Linked DNA regions of Homo sapiens: regions 2 and 3 are each linked to region 1. The links are contacts of gene promoters, found by promoter capture Hi-C in blood cells and fetal thymus (Javierre and others, 2016). All regions are on one chromosome and are shown on one strand. The core of a region is centred on a gene start or on the middle of the fragment in contact, and the rest is flanking DNA. Distances in the headings are between cores, read along the strand shown.

Region 1 (4,588 bases), core at 1,297-3,796:
TCCCATAGCATCCAGGGCACTCCCACAGCACCCAGGCCACTCCCATAGAGCTCAGGCCACTCCCACAGGGCTCATGCCACTCCCACAGTACCCAGGCCACTCCCACAGCACCCAAGCCACTCCCACAGTGTTCAGGCCACTCCCACAGCACCCGCTCCCCTCCCCGCACCTTGCACTGCAGGTAGGCAGTCTGGGGCCTGCCGGCGTCGTCCGTGTAGATGACCTGCATGACGTGCGAGCTGCCAAAGTTCTTTTCCTCAACCTTTTCTGCTGCCCGGATGTTGGCTAACTTGATGAGGGCGCTTTTCTGGGGCAGTCAGGGAGGAGGAGGCTCAGGGACCTAGCCAGGGGCATTCCATTCCCCATCTCTGGGCCTCAGTCTCCCCTTCTGCAGCACCAGGGGTAGGCGTGGGAGACCCAGAGTGACCTCAGCCAGGGCAGAGCACAGACTGATGGTGACCAAGTGCCCAGCAACTGGGAGAGGAGGACCTGGCCTCTCTGGGGGGCACTCCCAGAAGGCCTCGGAGGTGTGAGCTTTGGGGTAGTGTCTGGACAGCCAGCATTCCCTGGGCTACAAAGTCAATCCAGCCGTGGCCAAGGCTTTGTGACTTTGCATTTATTAATTTTCCAACTTGCTTTTGTAGTCCCAAGCTCTAACAGTCATATCCTGACCGGGCGCAGTGGCTCACACATGTAATCCCAGCATTTTGGGAGGCCGAGGAAGGCGGATCACCTGAGGTTGGGAGTTCGAGACCAGCCTGACAAACATGGAGAAACTCCGTGTCTACTAAAAATACAAAATTAGCCGGGCATGGTGGTGCATGCCTGTAATCCCAGCTACTTGGGAGGCTGAGGCAGGAGAATCGCTTGAACCCGGGAGGCGGAGGTTGCGGTGAGCCAAGATCGCACCATTGCACTCTGGCCGGGGCAACAAAAGTGAAACTCCATCTCAAAAAAAAAAAAAAAAATGGGACCAGAATTAAATAATGCCCATGTAGTCAAATCTTTCAACCCTGGCAAGGAAGATGTATAATAATCATCTGAGTGCTTTGGGAGGCTGGGGCAGGAGGATTGCCTGAGGCCAGGAGTTTGAGAACAGCCTGGGCAGCATAGCAAGACCCCATCTCTGCAAAAAAAAAATGTTAAAGAAAATTAGCTGGGCTTGGTGGCACGTGCCTGTAGTCCCAGCTACTCAGGAGGCTGAGGCAGGAAGATTGCTTGAGCCCAGGAGTTTGAGGCTGCAGTCAGCTATGATCGCACCACTGCACTACAGTCTGGGTGACAGAGCAAGACCCTGTCTCAAAAAATAATTATCATCATCTGAGGGGTCTTTGGTCGGAAGGGGCGGGCCCCTCATCTGGTGGGACCCCTGAGCTGGTTGAGAACAGGGTGGGTGATGAGCTCCTTCACCTACTCCTAGCCTGCTCTCACCTGCCCAGGGCTAGGCTGGGTACTCCTGGAAGATCATCCCCATAGCCTGCATGACTAGGGGCAGGTGTACAGCAAGCAGTCACCAGGTCCATGGAGGAAGTATGTCCTCAGCCCTTCCTGGGAGAAGAGAGCTTGCAGGAGAGGTGACCCATGACTCAGAGAGGGCTGTACAAGGTGATCTTTGAGATCCCCTCCCACACCAAGATTCCATGCTTCTATATTCCTGCCCGTTCCAGGAAGCCTCCCCTGTTTGCCCTAGCCTCCTACTCATCTAGCAGCCCAGGTGATGTACTATCTTTAATAATACCATTTGCCTAAATAGTACTACCTGCCAGGCCCTGGGTCAGGACCCTTAGGGAGATCATCTCATTTAATCCTCAACAACCTGGTAAGGTCGGATCAACTTCCTCCATATTCATTTTTTTTTTTGAGACGGAGTCTTGCTCTGTTGCCCAGGTTGGAGTGCAGTGGCACGATCTCGGCTCACTGCAACTTCTGCCTCCCGGGTTCAAGCGATTCCCGTGCCTCAGGCTCCCGAGTAGCTGGGACTACAGGCACCCACCACCACACCCGGCTGATTTTTTGTATTTTTAGTAGAGACGGGGTTTCTCCATGTTGGCCAGGCTGGTCTCAAACTCCTAACCTCAAGTGATCCACCCGCCTTGGCCTCCCAAAGTCCTGGGATTACAGGCGTGAGCCACCGTGCCCGGCCCTCCTAGGTTCTGACAAGCAGTACAGATGCCACACACCTGGCTTTCTTCTCTGACCCCGGGGGTACCTCAAGTGGGCTCCAAGGAAGGGGACAGGTGCCTCTAAGGTGCCCCACTTGCCGGCCTCTCAGAGCCCCACTTGCCGGCCTCCCTCCTTACCCACCTTGGAGCTGGGCGTCTTCGCGAAGCTGAGGGCCTCGGTAGTGAGGGAGAAGTAGAGCTTCTTGAAGGAGGAGGACATGAGGGGGCCCTTGCCCTTGGTCCTGTGGATGAAGAGTGGCCCCTCCTTCACAGGTGGCGCCTGCAAACTCAGCGTCCGCTGCAGGTCCAGCTCTGCCAGGCCAGGGAGGGAGGGGAATAGAGAGCCCAGGGAATGAGGGCGGGACTGGGGGGGGGGGGCGGAGCAGTGGGCGGGGCCATGGGGCTCAAGGGCTGAGCAAATCTGAACAGCAGGCAGTGGACGTAGTCATGGGGCTCAAGGGCGGAGCAAACATCAACAGCTGGTGGTGAGCGGGGTGACAGGTGGACTGAGGAAGGCAGGGCCATGGGCTTGGAGGCGGGACACGCGTCAGTAGCAGGTGGCGGCGGGGCTATGGAGCTCAAGGATGGAGCAAATGTCAACAGGCACAGATGATGGGAGGTGAGGCCATGGGTCTAGGGGTGGGGCAAACGTCAACAGCAGGCAGTGGGCAGGGTCACAGGAAGCACAAACAGTGGTGCGTGGGTCTATGGCCTGGGGGCCTGGCAAATGTCAACAGCAGGCGGTGGGTGGGGCCACGAGAGGAACAAACAGCGGTGGGTGGGGCCGTGGGGCTCAAGGGCGGAGCAAACGTCAGCAGTAGGCTGTGGGCGGGTCTGTGCAGGGCGGCGCTCACCGTCCTTCTCCTCGATGTCCACGAGCTTGGTGATGAAGTCCTTCAGCTGCGCCACGCCCTGGCGCACGGTGGGCTGCAGCGGCTCCATCCAAGCCTCCTTGGCCCTGGAAGCCGGCGTGTCCATGTTGCCCACGTTCTGGACTGCCTGGAGGTGACAGCAGGAAGGACCAGGTTCTGCTAGGTTAGGGGCCTAGCCACTGCACCCCCTCCCACCCCCCCTCCCCAAGTCTTTGCTACTCAGCTGTAGCGATGGAGGCAGAGGCGACAGAGGCCATGCCCACGGGCCCCCTCCAGCCCCACTAGGGATCAGGGAGGAGAGGATCATGAAGTTTGATGCCTTATGATAACTGAGACCACTTGGGCCTTCCTCTGTAGGTTTAACTGACGCTGCTGCACTGGATACCCCACCCCGGTGCCGGGCACATAGGTGCAGCCTGAGAGTAAGCAGACCTGGGTTGGAAGGTCCCGCGATTCACCACCGACAGGATGGGCGGCCTTGGCAACCCCCGACCCCTCGCAGGCCTGTTCCCTTATCCATGAGATGGAACTCGGACAAGGTGGCCACAGGAAGGCTTTGCAAACTGTGAAGTGCAGTGCCTACGTGGGCGTGCCAGTGGCCTCGCCGGAGCCGGTAGGGAACACTCTGCAGTCCAGGCCAGGGCCCCGGTAGGACACCCAGCTGTGCATCCCGCCCGTGGCCGCAAGGCCCGCACCTTGGCCAACAGGAGCAGGGTGCGGCTGGTGCGGGCGTCCGCGTGGCGCTCCCGCAGGTGGAAGAGCTTGGGCGACATGATGGCGGGAGAGAAGAAGCGCAGGCACAGGAAGCTGGTGACGGCGATGAACGGTACATTCTGGAGGGGTGCGGAAGAGCGCGGGCTGGAGTCCCCCAGACCAGGGCTCCTGGCAGCCCCCTCCCCTTAGGCTCCGTCCCTGACCCTCGCCGGGACACAGCCTCCCTGGTCCTCCCCAGCGCTCCCTGGTTCCCCACCGCTCTTCGCCCGCCCCTCGCCCCAGCCCAGTCCAACCCGGCCCAGCCTAGCCCAGCGGGTGGAGGGCGCACCTCGTGCTGGGCGCCGGGGAAGCGCTCGCGCACGCGCCGGAAGAGCTGGCGGAAGGTGGCGCGCACCACGGCGGGGCACGCGGGAACCGAGCGGCTGAGCGCGCTCAGCAGGGCCCCCAGGTGGGCGCGCAGCGTCTGCGCGCTCTGCTCCAGCACCTCGGCCTCGGTCTGCGGGCGGTGCAGCCCGGAACACCTGCGTGGAACGGGGCGGGTTGGCAGAGGAGGTCACGGTCAGCGCCAGGGCCACGACAGGAACAGTGGCTCTCACAGCAGCCGGGACACGGACACAGGGGACAATACACGGGTGGGCAGAAGCACAAACACACATGCTGACAGGGCCTGATCCCAACCCGCTGCCGCTGCGCCCCGCACCCCCCCGGAGTTACCCCCGGCCTCACCCTACATCCTTAACTTCCACTTTGCTGGGGTCCAGCTCCACGTACTTCTCCTCAAACACCTTGTTGATGATGGGGCCCAGGACGCCGTGCAGGTACTGCATCCCGGCCACCTGG
Region 2 (4,588 bases), core at 1,117-3,616, 170 kb after region 1:
ATTTCCCACCGCCTTTTGTTTCCTGTGGCTGCTGTCAACAGAAACCCTCAAATATTTGCTTTTAACAGATAGCTCTGTGGGCCTGGCTGGTGTCTTTTGGGGCTCTGAGTGTCTGTCCCAGGCCTCTCTCCAGCCTCTGGTGGCTGCTGGCCATCCTTGGCATTCCTTGGATTAGAGGTGCATCACTTCAGGCTCTGCCTCTGCCGTCACGTGACCTTCTGTGTGTGTGTTTCCGTTTCTTACCAGGACATCAGTCATGGAATTAGATGCCACCCTAATCCAGTATTACCTCTTCCTAACTAGTTACATCTGCCAAGACCCTATTTCTAAATATGGTCACATTCAGAGATTCTGGGGATGTTAATTTCTGGGATGCGGTTGGGGTTGGGGGGTGCGGTGTGGGTCACTCTCCAACCCAGTACAATCATATAGTGCCCAGCTACTCTTTTTTCCAAAGCTCCATGCACACGCACATGTGCGTGCACACACACACACACACACAAATGTATATATAAATGTGTGTGTATATATATATATGAGTTTTCCTGGAGTGCTGGTTATCTAAGCCTGTGCTGGGGACAGCTTTTTGGGAAGTCTGCTACATCCCAGTTAGATCTTCTAGATTTCACGGGAATGTCACCAGGTTCTGTTCCATCCACTTGGACAGTAACTATTCTTGGACCGAGTCTCGACACCTAGAGGTGAAGTTTGTGTGTGTTGGAGAGGAACCCAGGTAAGGCACTTTCCCCCATGACTGAAATATGAGGGGCTCATGTCAGGGCACGTACTGAACAGAGCTGGATTCTCTTTTCTTTTTTGTCCAGCACAACACCATGGAGTCTCTGTTAGAGCGAGGTGAGAAGCTAGATGACTTGGTGTCCAAATCCGAGGTGCTGGGAACACAGTCTAAAGCCTTCTATAAAACTGTGAGTACCCAGCACCTGCTGCCTCCTGGGTGTTCTCTCTAGAGAGCAGTCGCAGCTTGCTGCTTCTGGCACTCTCCACTATGAACGGGTCTTTCTTAGACTGTTGAATCATGGTGGATGATTCCTTGTGCGGCAAGAGCCTAAGGTGAGCGCCTCAGGCCCAGGTGGTTGGAGGCAGTTCACTTGGGCGCCGTTGGAGTCGATGCGGGCCGAGGCCTTGTTCCACTCCTGCCTCTGCTCTGCCCTCTGCTGCTCTGGCTGATTTCTGAACTCCTACTCCCAGTCCAGGAAGGCTGGTTCAAGTTCTGATCACCAGAGATTTACTGTTGAATCTTATTCCTCTTTCTGCTGAGTAGACATAAGTCTTTAAGATGCAAGCAATTCAGCCTTCCTGAAGAGGTTCTTAAGCTTTTAATTTCCCTTTGACAGAAAATATTTAATTGACAAGGATGGGTGCTGCTGACTGCCGCTTTCTCTCAGGTCAGTGCTCATGTCTTCCTATGTGGAGATGGCACTGTTGGCCCATGGTTGGATAGTCATAGGGACAAATTTACTTGGTCTGTCCACACACATTTGCTTTCATGTGCACATTGGAGGGAGATGGCTAGGTGGGATTAGGAAGATAGTCTGTGACCAGAAAGCAAGAGAGAAGGTGGCAACAGTGGTCCCCACAAACCACATCCCAAGTGGGAACCACATCTGTTGTCCTCAGGACCATCTTCTAGGAAGAAACACCACCGTGGTGGTCAGATAGCATTGTGTGAAGACAGGAGTGGGGCAAAGTTAAGATATTCTGCCAATCCCATTTGTATTATTGGTCCTTTGTTTGTACCTGGCCTAACTGTAGGAATTTTACTCACTTTTTGATAGCATTAATGGGGTGTGAGAAAAGAAAGGAAAAAGGATCCCAGACTAGTTTTGGAAGCCGGGGCCCGCCTTGTGCTTGGTGATGGGAATTGCTTGTGGACAGCTTCCCTCAAGGCCTCCACCCCCACCCTGTTCTAGTGCTAGTTTCTCTGCCTGGCTGTGTCCTGTGGAGCTCCCTCTGCCACGCCTGCCAGGATTGGGGCTTCCCTTACTTCGTCAGTCCTCCTTCTCAGCTCCTCTTTGTTTTTTTCCAAGGCCCGGAAACAAAACTCATGCTGTGCCATCATGTGATGCAGCCTGCCAGAGGCCCAATGCTGGAATGGCACCATCATTCACATCAGAACTGCAGCCCCTGGAAAAGAAGAGACAGCCATAGACGAGGAGCCAGAGTGGGGGCAGACTGGCCATTTTTATTTTGAAGTTCCTGCGAGAAATGGATGGTGGAAGGGTGGCGAATGTTCAAATTCATATGTGTGGTAGTGATTCTTGGAAAGAATTTGAGGTCCCCAAAGGTGTATTTTTGGGCAAATGAAACCATAAACTCCGACTGGCTTCTGTAGATGCCAAAGGGCTCTTTTTCAGCTAACCCTGGGAAGGCTCTGTGGGAGGGAGGTCGGAGCCAGCTGTTTCTCGATCTTTGGTATATCTTTGGATCTTATTTGTACATTAATGATATTAACACTCCAGTGGGGGGTGGGGAGTCCCTGATGCTAGGGCTGGGGTGGGTGGAGTTTGAAGACTCTTGGGAAAGCCTCTCCTGGGGCCACTGTTGGGGGTGGGAGTGAGCCCACCACAGAGGCCACAGGCAGGCCCCCACTTCAGGCCCAAGGCCTGGGGCGGGGGGAACAGTCACTGGGTCTCAGATTCTGAGACTGTTGTTTAGCTTACCTTTCTGCTAGGATTGGCTTCCCGCAGAGGGCAGGGCCCATCCTAAGCAGCTTCCAAGTCCCACAAAGGTGGCTTGTGGGAGGATTTGGAAGGAGCTGCATTGTGGGCGGGGAGTGTGTGGGTTGGGTTCGTACCAGCAAGTAGACTAGGAACTGAGCCCAGGAAAGGGGGATGTTTTCCTGGTGTTTGGATGGTCAGCTGGGAGTGTCCATCATCAGGGGAAGATCAAACACAGGTGCACTCAGCTGCCCAGGGCCTCTGGGACACTTGCCTTGACTTGCAACTTGCCTTGAACATCACGATCAAAGCAGCAGGTGCTGTGGTCTCTCAAAATTGATTTTTATTTGACTCTGTGGCTCTAAGACTGCCTTGAACCGCCTGAGGCCTATGCATCTGAACAAGTGGGTCTCTCCCTTGAGCACCAGGAGTGGGTGCCAGCCGGCCCCGAGGATTCCCAGCACCCCACCTATGGTCTTGCCAGCATAGGCTTGCTAGTTCCTTCTTGGTCAGAGGTAGCTGCAGAGGGGGGAGGCCAAGGGTTTGGTCTAAGCTGTGCCCTGCCACCTGGCAGGAGGCCCACTCACTGCCCAAGTCATGGCAACAGGCTGGAGCAGCCCAGGAGATGGGCCTAAAATGTTCTGGATCCCTTGGGTCCTAGTGTTATGTTCCAGTCTGCCCACCTGTGCTCAGGATGCAGCCCTGGGATCCAGCACCCATGGAAGCTTCTGCTGGGATGGTGTCACCTATGGGTTTTGAACCAGTGTGGTATGGTCCTTGGGAGCTCTGCTCTGAGCTTGCCACACTGCTGAGAGCACCCACTGTCCTGACCAGAGTCTCAGTGGTCCTGACCCCCAATGTGGGCAGGGGCTGGGCAGGAGGGTGGGGTCTGCTGTGGGTTCAGAGGACTCCACCTCCTGGCTGGTTTACCTGCTGCTGCCCATTTTCTCTGGGTACTGCTGGCCAGAGGACTTTAGCCTACCCCTGAAGAGCCTGTCCATGTCATTTTCCTACTGCCATAGATACCCTAAGCCCAGGGCCCCTTGAGGCCCAGACTCAGCCTGCCCACTGGTGCCGGAGACGGAGTGGAGTGGGCCTGGATCCGAGGGATGCTACCTCTCCCTTTCCCACTTGAGGACCCTGGGGAGAGATGGGGGCGGGGAAAATGGAGGTATGAATTTGGGGTAAGAGGAAGTGAGATCTCCGCTTGCAGGTCAGCCCCTGCCTTGCAGGGCGGGCTGGCTTGACTCAGGCCCTGTGAGATAGAGGGCCCAGCCCAGCCCCACCCACAGATCCCCTGCTCCTGTTGTGTTCTGTTGTAAATCATTTGGCGAGACTGTATTTTAGTAACTGCTGCCTAACTTCCCTGTGTTCTATTTGAGAGGCGCCTGTCTGGATAAAGTTGTCTTGAAATTTCACAGTGGTCCTGTGCTTTCTTTGTGCTTCAGGGGAATCCTTTCTTCACCAAGCCCTTCCCCCGGGGGAGAGAGTGGCCTCATGCTGTGTGCCTGTGGGCCTGCCGCATGCAAGGGTCCAAGTTATCCTGACCAGCTCCTGTCCAGGAGAGGTAGCTGCAGGCCTGACTCCTTCACCTCCTTTCTATAGACCTTGCTAGCAGGAACTGTATTTTCTTTTTTGCTGTTAACCAGGTGAGGGAGCCCTGGAGTAGAAGAAGCCCTGTCATTGCTGAATCCTGTTGCCTGGTCTTAGCTGCAGCCAGGAGACCCACCCTAGGAAAGCTGCCTCATAGCTGCAGAGCCATGGGACAGGAGGCCCCATCCCCATCCTGATCCCGCTGTAGGCTTCCTGTCCCTCACCGCTGACCCCAGGGTCAATCTGAGACCACCTGGCATCCCACCAAGCACAGGTGGCAACTTTTCAGGAGCAGAGGGGGCTCCACAGGGTACCTG
Region 3 (4,588 bases), core at 1,299-3,798, 160 kb after region 1:
ATAACACCAACCAGACCTCAGGATAGGTGATACTCAAGACAGCCATTGGATCAAGACACATAGACCCTGTACCCTGCACTGCTCCCACGTATGTCCCATACCAAGTTTTCCTTTCAGAATCCTATGATAAATTTTAAAATTTGAGATAATTGAATGCTTTAAAACAACAATTCACCATCTTCTTGGTTTGCTGGCTCTAGTTAAAACCACTTTTCCTCCCACCAAACCTCTCCTCTTGTATTTGGCTTTCAAGCGGTGGAATCCGAGTCCGGTTACAATGGGGGACATTTACCCAACAGGGACTGCTTGAAACAATGAGCAGTTTAGTTGGGGACCGCAGAGTTGCAGAATCTCTGAACCATTCAATGCTCCCAAACGAAAGTCCTCTGTCCTCCTCCCTGGGGTGGGGTGGATGGGGCATTCCTGGCTGATGAATTGGGGAGCAGGTGGGGAGAGAGCTGCCCTCCCCAGGTATAGCTTCTTCAGGATGCCCCTTGCCTTTCTGGCCCCATCCCTCCAGACACTGGACACTTCTGCTTCAGCCCCTCCCTCCCCGTCTGCTGGTCCCTGTCCCTCAGCCTGTTGCCTCCTAACTTGACAACTGCTCCCCTCTCTCCCCCGCCACCCTTGGTAGCATCTCTCATTTGCGCCACCTTGCAATTGGTCTCCCCCTGCCCTTTGTCTTGTGTCATTATAGTGGAGCATATTTGGGAGGTGGTTCACATAAACATATGTATTTAATCATCCATGTTAACCCAAAGTTTGTATGTATCCAGCTCGGGGTTCCTTGATCCTCTCCAATCTGTGCCAGTTACTTTGCTTCTCTTTTCTTAAGAGTCGAAGAAAGTCCTGGGCTTTGCTCTGATTGGATGGCCTACTGATGGCCAGCTGAGTGGCCTGTTGATTGGCTGAAGCTTGCATCAGGTGCCTATCCAAAGACCAATCGCTGTGGCAATAAGGACCACTGGTTGATAGGCTGGGGCCTGGGGCCCCATGTGGCAGGGTGTGGGATCAGCCTCTAGTTCATGATGGTTTCCCTGTGAGTACTTTCCCTGTGTGCTCATTGCTGTTGTTTATTAGGTTGTGTTTGGTGTGCCCAGCCTTTCCAAGGGCACACCTTGTGTTCTTGGCCTTCCTCTGCATCCTTCTTTCTGCTCTCATGTGGGGCCTACAGCCCCGAGGATGTGGGAGGTGCACGCCTGGTTGTGGAGCAGGGGACTCCTCTGCAGGCCTTTCCACCTGCCCCTCTTTGACAGCTCTGTAGACTTCCTCTCGCTTTTTGTACGGGGCAACCCCACGACTATCAGGGTACCATTGACAGGACAAGCCACTTGCCTAAATGACCATGTGTCCTAATTCTAAGTTCCTGGCATTCATCCAGTATGGCTACTGATAACTGATATGGTTTGGATATGTGTCCCCACCAAATCTCATCTGAATTGTAATCCCCAATATTGGAGGTGGGGCCTGGTGGGAGGTGTCTGAGTCATGGGGGTGGATCCCTCATGAATGGCTTGGGCCATCCCCTTGGTGATGAGTCAGCTCTTGCTCTGAGTTCACACGAGATCTGGTTGTTTAAAAGTGTGGCACCTCCCAGTGCCTCTCTCTCTCTCACTCCTGCTTCCACTGTGTGATGTGCCTGCTTCCCCTTTGCCTTCCGCCATGACTGTAAGTTTCCTGAGGCCTCCTCAAAGGCTGAGCAGATGCCAGCACCATGCCTCTTGCAAAGCCAGCAGAACTGTGAACCAATGAAACCTCTTTTCTTTATAAATTACCTGGTCTCAGGTATTTCTTTATAGCAATGCAAGAATGGCCTAACACAGCTACATATCCATCTCTAGCCCCTCAGCTGCAGAGGGGTGTCTTAGGACAAATACAGCTTCTGGGAAGCCCCTGCTGGGGCACAGCCTCAAAATCAGGGCACCTGCCTCCTGTCTTCCTTGGCTGTAATCCCTTCCTGCCCACGTATACTCCTGTCCTGTTCCTCCCTTGCTCTGACATCCCCTATTGCTTCGTAGCCAGTGGCAGAGCTCAAACCTTTGGTGGCAGACTCTGTCTGTCTTCCCTGGGGCCTGGAGAACCCAGAGGGAGCCCAGGATGCCTTGGTGTGGGGTTGCAGTGGGGAGCAGTGTTCCTGAGGGCTAGGTGTGCTGACAGACCCTGATTGATGACATCAAGTCTGTGCACCTGAGGCTTGGTGACCTACTCAGGCCATGGAGGCCTGACCACATTGGTGGCCCCTTTCCACACCCTTTTCCTATATGAGCTGTGGAGGCAGCTCAGCTGCCATGGCCTTAGCTGACTGAATGAGGAGGTGTGGGGGCAAGGGCCATTGTGTGGCTGGGCTCCCCACCTGGACTGGGCTTCCTGGGGGTATGCTCCTTGATAGGCTTTTGTCCAGCTCCCCAAAGGTTCTGCTGTACAGCAAGGGCTGGCACCTTATGTGAGCTAGGCAAGGCTGCAAAGGCGGGTGGGTACTTGTTTTGCTCAATGGGGCAAACTTAACAGGGCCTGGGCCATTTATCGTGGACAGCGTTAACTCCAGTTCTGTCTGCAGAGAGGCTTTTCTTCTAGGTCCCAGCACCTCAGGTGGGAGCCTGGACTAGAGAACTCTGCTACCCACACTCCTGTGCGGGCTTCGTTCATAGCCTTACTGCCCATTTCCTGCATTTTCCATTCCCACAATGTTGTACTTGCAGAACAGGTGCAAGAACAATACAAGCATGAGAATCGCTTGAACCTGGGAGGCAGAGGTTGCAGTGAGCGGGATCACACCATTGCACTCCTGCCTGGGCAACAGAGCAAGACCCTGTCACAAAGCAAAACAAACAAACAGATACGCTTCATCCTGATTCCTGTATTTGCTTTATCATTCTCTTTCTCTCTGTCTCTCTCTCTCTCTGTCTCTCTCTCTCTCTCACACACACACACACACACACACACACACACCCTGTAAGAGTAAGTTGCAGACACAATGTCCCTTTACTTCTAAATTCTTGTGTATATTTCCTATAAACAAAGACTTCTCTTATATAACCATGGCACAGTGATGGAAAGCAGGAAATTAAAATAGATACAATACTATTATCTAATCTAGAGGCCTTACTTGGGTTTTAGCCTATCTTCAAATCTCTACTTCCCATAGATGCCTTCCACCCTCTATGATTAATAATCCTTTTCTTCATTAATGAGAAGACAAATAATTATCACTGTTACCTGTTAAACATCAACAATGACTAGAGCTTGTAATATAATGTTTTATTATTTCCAACAACATTCCTATGGAAAGAATATTTTTCTAGTTTTATAGATAAAAACAAAAGGAGACTCAGGGAGGTAATGGTTTGCTCACTTTTGTGATTTTGTGATGTGTCAGTGCTGGGACTGAATCCAAGTTGGGTGACAGCTGGGGCGATGCAGCAGAAGGCAGGTCTTGCTTTTTGGTAACACAGTGAGCTTGGGAAGTCTGCAACCACATGACTATGAATGAGGCTTCCTGGAACAGTAGAGGCTGAGTGAGGCCAGAGAGGAGCAGGAAGAGTTGCCAGGAGTGGGCTGCATGACAGTTTGTTAAGCATTTCACTGTTGACATCTGAACCCCAACTCTGTCCCTTACCAACCATCTCCTTAAATTGAATCTCAGTCTCTATGTCTGTAGGGTGGCAATAATATTTTCCCCTGTTTTTGTGAGGATTAAATGATGTGGCACATGGAAAGTACTTGGCATAAGGTAAACTTTGGGACAGCCACTATAATGTGTCAAGTGGATACACTGAAATTTATTCCATCCAAGCGCTGTCTTCCTGATCTTTTTGCACAACTTTCAGTGGAAGGAAGAGGGGCTCCAGAGACTTTCCTCAGAAATGGCTCTCACCTGCCTCCTATAGGGAAATGGTGTCAGTGCAAGCAGTTGAGCCTGGACTGATAGCACCCAGCAACCCAGCTTGTCAGACTACTGTGTCCATATCTGTGGGTGGCTGAGCCTAGCCACGGCCAATGGCTGTTCCTAATGTTTACTACCAAAACAGGGGAAATGTGGAAAAGCCCTTTCCACCCTCTGTACTTGGAAACACCCAGGGAAGAGGGTTGGTGACAGAGGTACTGAGTGAGTGGGCAGGTGGTGGGAACTTCCTTTCACCACAGATTATTTAAAGCAATGTTTCTCAGCTGGGCGCAGTGGCTTAAGCTTGTAATCCCAGCAATTTGGGAGGTCGAGGTGGGTGGATCACATGAGGCCAGGAGTTTCAGACCAGCCTGGCCAACATGGTGAAATCCCATCTCTATTAAAAATACAAAAATTAGCCGCGTGTATGGATGCATTCCTGTAATCCCAGCTACTCGGGAGGCTGAGGCATGAGAATCGCTTGAACCTGGGAGGCAGAGGTTGCAGTGAGTGGGATCACACCATTGCACTTCTGCCTGGGCAACAGAGTAAGACCCTGTCACAAAGCAAAACAAACAAACAAACATATATATCTGCAAAGCAATGTTTCTCAAAACTACTGCTCCCAAAGGACATTTTGACGTTTTTGATTGTGCAGTGGGGAGGGGGTGGGTTGGTACTGACATTTCTACAAAGGCCTGAGAT

Evidence for each region. Contacts are between HindIII fragments. The CHiCAGO score rates a contact against its expected background, and 5 or more counts as called.
Region 2: a contact is called between a fragment that was not itself captured here and the fragment with the promoter of LINC00957 in region 1, in 1 of 17 cell types (endothelial precursors). The highest score is 5.9, in endothelial precursors.
Region 3: a fragment that was not itself captured here is called in contact with the fragment with the promoter of LINC00957 in region 1 in 1 of 17 cell types (endothelial precursors); the score reaches 5.5 in endothelial precursors.

The regions. Positions count from the first base shown.
Region 1 is chr7:44,036,503-44,041,090 of GRCh38, forward strand. It overlaps LINC00957 (long intergenic non-protein coding RNA 957), which reads left to right and starts at 2,547. Exons shown (of 3, transcript NR_072982.1): 1 at 2,547-2,647; 2 at 3,392-3,860. It also overlaps the pseudogene RASA4CP. RefSeq lists an enhancer at 1-381 and silencers at 3,833-3,922, 4,013-4,122. The HindIII fragment of the contact is 32,056 bases long and covers 1-4,588 here.
Region 2 is chr7:44,210,199-44,214,786 of GRCh38, forward strand. It overlaps YKT6 (YKT6 vesicular SNARE protein), which reads left to right. Exons shown (of 7, transcript NM_006555.4): 6 at 825-926; 7 at 2,049-4,096. The coding sequence ends at 2,084. Among named protein-coding and RNA genes, the nearest start is that of YKT6, 12 kb to the left of the region's middle. RefSeq lists an enhancer at 3,943-4,588. The HindIII fragment of the contact is 2,069 bases long and covers 1,333-3,401 here.
Region 3 is chr7:44,192,671-44,197,258 of GRCh38, forward strand. No RefSeq gene overlaps it. Among named protein-coding and RNA genes, the nearest start is that of GCK, 5.5 kb to the left of the region's middle. The HindIII fragment of the contact is 3,272 bases long and covers 913-4,184 here.